Linked DNA regions of Homo sapiens: region 2 is linked to region 1. Evidence: promoter capture Hi-C in human tissues and cell types (Jung and others, 2019). All regions are on one chromosome and are shown on one strand. Each heading gives the region's core, a stretch centred on a gene start or on the middle of the fragment in contact. The rest is flanking DNA. Distances are from core to core; before and after follow the strand shown. Region 1 holds the start of CDADC1 (cytidine and dCMP deaminase domain containing 1). Region 2 overlaps FNDC3A (fibronectin type III domain containing 3A).

Region 1 (2,732 bases), core at 101-2,600:
CCTAGATAAAACACCAACAGTATATATAATTGGGGGAAATTATGTGGTATAGACAATAATCTTATTAGCCGAACTGACATATGAATACCATTAGTACCCGATAAACATGGTATTCTCAGAAAGTATTTTTAGAATGGAAGATGACTTATTACGGCTGGGAATTATAAAGTGTCATGTTAATCAATAAAGATATTTTTTAAATCTTAAGCCTTGTTAAGTTTGGTTTTAGGTATGACAGAAACTGGAGCAATAAACTCAGATTTTAAACCACTGCTTTTCTAAGGGGAAAAACTATGAAACAAATTATACCTGAGATTTTTGCCGCTGGGCTTCTGCTGGAAAGAGCTCCATCCAGAGGCTGAGCAGAGTGAAAAGGTTGACTTTAGAAAGCCTTGGTATCTGACCTACAAAAGAGACGACAAACACTTTAAACTTTGTTACTAATGGTGAAAAAGGGAGCCAATCTCAATGCCACTTAGGTGCTGCAGCCTAAGCCCAGCTGCTTTCGCAAGAGGCACAGAAAAAGATAGGGGACAAGAGAGTCAGAGGTATCTTAGCAGTAGACGCTTCAGCCTTAGTCGTGGCTACCTCCTTCTCCACTTAAAAAGTTGAGCCTTCTTTCTCCAGCCCTCACCCTGCAGGAAAAAACGGTACAGCTAATACACATAGCTGAGGGGGACAACCCAAAGCAAGCTGTGAAAAGTCTTCGCATCTGACGTCGTCGTGGTGCAAGCTTTTCTTTGGACTGTGATGGGGCGTTGCTAAAAGGAAAGCGATTAGAACACAACCCGAAAAATGCGCTGACCTTCGACGGTAAAGCAGTCGAAATACAGGAAAGCGTCACGTGCGGTTAATTTGGAAATCAAGGCAAAAGCGCCGTTTGGAAATGTTCAGGCTCTTTGACCTCAGAGGCCCCAGCTCTAGGTCCTGTGAGAAGTAGCTAACAGGGGTAAAAAGCGAGACTTCAAAAGCCAGTGCGACCGAGCCGATTGGTCCTGGCGACCGCGGAGGGGACACGCAGAGGGCGGGCAGGAGACATCCAAAAGCAGCAGGGGAGGCAAAGAGGCTCAGACAAGGAATCTGGAGTTCAATGACGGGAGACGCACAGGGCAGAGCGAAAGGTAGGGTGGCGGGAGCAGGGTCCCGGACACTCACCGGTCATGCTGCCAGTCTGGGTGCTGACTGACCGCCCGGCCCTCGCGCTCTCCAGATTTTGCATCTGCCCAGCTTCTTTCATCCCAAACCTAGCGTCCTCTGCTGCCAAGGAAACCTCTCCCAGTCAGACATGATCTCGGCCCTAGCGCCCCCGCCTCTCGCCTCCTCTCAGCAACTGTAAGGCAACGGCCCACTAGGCGCAGCCAGATGACGCCTCAAGCTTGACCGCCACTTCAGGGCTCCTCGTGTGACGTCATAGAGAGGCGGGGCTTTGGCGCCAGAGGGCTGCCCCTCGGCCGGTGACCGAGTTAAGCACCGAGCTGTAAATCGCTTGAGACCTGTATTTGGTTGTTTTGTTGGTTTTGCCAAGTAAGGTCACTTGAGGATTTCTTGGCTCGAGGTCCCAGGTTGCGCAGACTCTGACTGCATCGAGTTGAGAATTTTGGTCAGAATGTTAAAGTGGAAACCTACCCCAGGCTGTCATGGTCAGTGTTTTAGAGAACTTCTTGGGTTGGGGTGTGGAGCTGGGCGGTCCAGGATGTTCTGTCATCAGAGACTGGCGGGTTCTGGGGAACTTGGTGCCATGGAACACAGTAGGGACGTTCTGCTTCTCATCAAGAACATGAAGACATTAAGAGGTGGAATTGTAATGGGGAAAAAGGTGAGAGGAGGCAGTAGGAGTTATTTTGTTTTTAATTTCTAATGTCTAGTTTATTTCCACAAAACATCTGTATCATACCAGTTCTTTGAAATTTGTTCAGACTTGTTTTATGACCTAGATCAGCACTGTCCAGTAGGATTTCCTGTAGTATTCTATATCTGCACTGTCCAATATGGTAGCCACCAGCCACATGTGGCTATTGAGCATCTGAAATGTGGCCAGTACAACCAAGGAACTGCATTTTTAACTTCATTTAGTTTTAATTAATTTACATTTTAAGTAGTGACATGTGGCTATTGGCTACTACTGTATTGGACAACATTACTCTAGACTCTCCTCCTGGAATTCCTATTAGGCATAGGTTAAACCTTCTGAGGTTCTAAATTATTATTTTTAAAATATTGCATCATTTTGTTTCTCTGAGCCACATTCTGGCTAATTTCTTCAGATCTATCTTTCAGCTTGCTATTTATTTCTTTGGCTTGTAGAATTTTTTCTAGTTCGCCTGTTCTGAGGGTAAAGCTCTTCAGGTGATTTGACTATATCCAGAGAACTCCATTCTGCACCTTTCCTGAAGTGTAGACTTTGTTGACAGTGCCTTCATGGCAATTAACACTAAGGTTTAAAGACAGGCCATGGACTAGGAGAAAATATTTGCAAAGCATGTATCCAACAAAGGACTCATATCCAGAATATATAAAGAACCATATAAACTCAGAGTAAGTAAACAGTCCAGTTAGAAAATGGATCAAAGACTTGAATAGTCATTTCACCAAAGAAGATATACAGATGGCAAATAAACATGTAAAACAGTGTTCAGTGTCATTGGCCATTAGGGAAATGTATATTAAAACCACAATGAGATTCTACTACACACCTATTTAAATGGCTAAAATAACAAGTACTGACAGCACTA
Region 2 (2,985 bases), core at 149-2,648, 110 kb after region 1:
TTAAACTACATGTTCTTCCTAATGTTGAGTAAGAAAGTCTTTGAATTGGCTTTAAGATTTACTTTTCCTGTCTGTAAATTATATATATATTTATTTATTTATGAGACAGGTTCTTGCTCTGTCACCCAGGCTGGAGTGAAAAGGCACAATCTTAGTTCACTGCAGCATTGAACTCCTAGGCTCAAGGGATCCTCCCACCTCAGCATCCCAAGTATCTGGGACTACAGGTGTGTGCCCCCTTGGTCTGTAGTATCTGTATTTGTTTTTTGTAGAGACGAGGTCTCAATATATTACTCAGGCTGGTCTCAAACTCCTGGCCTCAAGTGATCTTCTTGTCTTGGTTTTCCAAAGGACTGGGAAAGTGTGAGCCACTGCACCTGGCCTGAAAATTATACTTTTAATATATACTACAACAAGTAAATGCTACTAGCATTAGCTATTAAATCACTCAAACATCAATCTTATTAAGCCTACTAAATTCTTTTTCTAGTAAACCTAGTGATATACACTTGGGGTCTTGGAAGGATACTGCCTAAATTTCAGTCATAGCTCTACTACTACTAATTGAAACTCACTGTTGCTTCAGTTTCCTCATTTGTAAAGCAGGGAAAATAGTACATATATGGTTGTCACAGGTATTAAATAATGCACATGTGCATTCCAAGCACTCTGAACAGAGACTGATGCTAATCAATTTGTGTTAACCATTACTATGAAATAATTGTGTAAATTTACATTTATTTACACATATATGCTCTATTCTCAAGAGAAAACAGATTAGAATAAAGAAAGCTAGAGCAACCAAATCTATTATTTGGGAGTTGTCAGAAAAAGTAGGACCATATTAGTCTATTAGATGAGGAACTGGCTTACTCAAACATCCTAAAACATGGCAAGATAAGCTTAAAAAGCCTTTATGGAGATGGTACTAAGAATAATAACTTTTCTAATCTGTTTTCTCAGAAAAACAAAGTATTTTTGGGGCAACTTAGTATAAAACATTTTACCATGGATGTTTCTGAGAGTTGGGAAAGAGTAGTTTGTTTTATGAACCAAAAAATATTCTTATCAATCTTAAATTGCCTTATTCTGGCTGAAAAAGTCCTATGGCCTACTTCTTCCACCACATCTTTCTCCCCTTCACTATACTCCAGTGATAATGGTTCTTTCCCTCTGTCCAACTCCCCATGCTTACTTACACCTGTTCTCCCTCTCCCATTCCTTCCACTTTTGCACTTTTTCTCACTTGTCAGAGAAAGCTTCCCTGATTGCTCTATTTAACCTAACAACCTCTCCTATTAATCTCATCATATCATTCCTATTTCTATAATAGCAATCTTTACTATCACACAGAATTCTGTTTGTGCATTTGTTTTTTATTTATTGGCATATAGTAAGGGATCAATAAATATTTGATGAATGAATGACAAAACTATGTAGCTCTTCAAAGAATCAGGTAATGACATAGAAAGATAGCTAAAGCATACCATAGTGAGTGAAAAAGCTTGTCACAGAATACAGTATGATCCTATTTTCATAAAAAGTTAAAAGAAAAAAACTACATTTTGATGGATGAACATCTTATGCTAATATATTAAATATAAACATCAATAAAATACATAAGATACTTACCACTGGTTTGACAATGTTGGAAAGAAGTGCTTCAAATGCTTTAGTTTCTTCATCTTTTTCTTAAAAAAATAAAACATTTGAATATTTAAAAAAAAGAACTTAGATACAATCCCTTCTTCTCCCTAAATATGTATTCTGAAACTAGGTTGGTATTTGAGACTTTTATTTTCTAGTTTTTATTCCTTTGTTCATACTCAGCAGTTTGTGGCCCTTCAGCATTTATCTACTTTAGTTTTTATTTCTATCTTAACTGTGACTACTAATTATAACACCACTATATACAGATATATCTATATATATTTAGACATAGCTATATCTATCTGAACCAAATTTTTCTTATATCAAGTATATTTTTATTCATGGTTGTAAGAATATTCTCTCTGGAAAGTTCTCATTTGTCAATCTCATACCTCTTAATAAAGTTAACTATTTTTTCATGACATGCCTTAGTTATGGTTTCCCAAATTAGAAATATAATTGGCTTGACTGTAACTTATAGCCACCACTGATAGGCAAAAAACTTTAACTTAATTTCTTCTGAAACATCAGTGCTGAAAACGATGATCAGGTCTCAAATAAATGGGAGAACATTTATGTAAATGTTGTTAATATATAAGTCATGAACAGTTAAGACATTATTTGAAATTTGTTAGTGAGGCATGGAAATTTTAAGGAAAAGGAAGGTAGGAAGAGTTCACATGGCTTACATTTTGATATTTCCCTCAAAGTTGGAAGCATTTTAGTTCCTAGTCATATATTAATTACCTACACTATTTGATAGTAAATATCAATTTAGATAAGCATATTCAAGGACTGATAGAGTTGTGGTTATTGGTGCTTGTGAAATGACATGTTGGTATGGTTCATAGTCATTTCTGATGAAACCTTTAGAACCTGACATGGTCTACCATGCATATCTATGTATTTCTACATACGCATATCTACGTCAAACAGATAATAGTCAGTATTAAGGAAACCTAAAAGAACATACATATAGAAACTACATTAATCAAAGTAAGCAGTAGTTACAAGCTTAACATTACAATCAAAAGTACTGGGTACTAACTCCACAACTGTAGGCATATGAAAGACAGGCTGTTAACCCAGCTATATTTTACCTTATAGAGATTGATTCAAGTATATACAAATAATAGTGCTCAAAGTCCATATAGTAGGCTCATGCCTGTAATCTTAGCACACTGGAAGGTCAAGGTGGGTGGACTGCTTGAGCCTAGGAGTTGGAGACCAGCCTGGCCAAGATGGTGAAACCCTGTCTCTACTAAAAATACAAAAAGTAGTTGGGCGTGGTGGCATGCGCCTTTAGTCCCAGCTACTCAGGAGGCTGAGGCACGA

What was found. The method cuts DNA at HindIII sites, captures the fragments that hold promoters and counts their contacts. A contact is called where the count stands out against the background at its distance.
Region 2: a contact is called between a fragment that was not itself captured here and the fragment with the promoter of CDADC1 in region 1, in 3 of the 25 tissues and cell types used here (hippocampus, mesendoderm cells and spleen).

What each region holds. Positions count from the first base shown.
Region 1 is chr13:49,246,543-49,249,274 of GRCh38, reverse strand. It overlaps CDADC1 (cytidine and dCMP deaminase domain containing 1), which reads right to left and starts at 1,350. Exons shown (of 10, transcript NM_030911.4): 1 at 1,156-1,350; 2 at 310-404. The coding sequence starts at 1,237. LOC105370203 (a long non-coding RNA gene) reads left to right here and starts at 1,435. Exons shown (of 2, transcript NR_135318.1): 1 at 1,435-1,640. RefSeq lists enhancers at 1,228-1,457, 927-1,489. The HindIII fragment of the contact is 6,098 bases long and covers 44-2,732 here.
Region 2 is chr13:49,137,453-49,140,437 of GRCh38, reverse strand. FNDC3A (fibronectin type III domain containing 3A) reads right to left here. Exons shown (of 26, transcript NM_001079673.2): 7 at 1,633-1,691. Among named protein-coding and RNA genes, the nearest start is that of MLNR, 81 kb to the left of the region's middle. The HindIII fragment of the contact is 4,145 bases long and covers 1-2,985 here.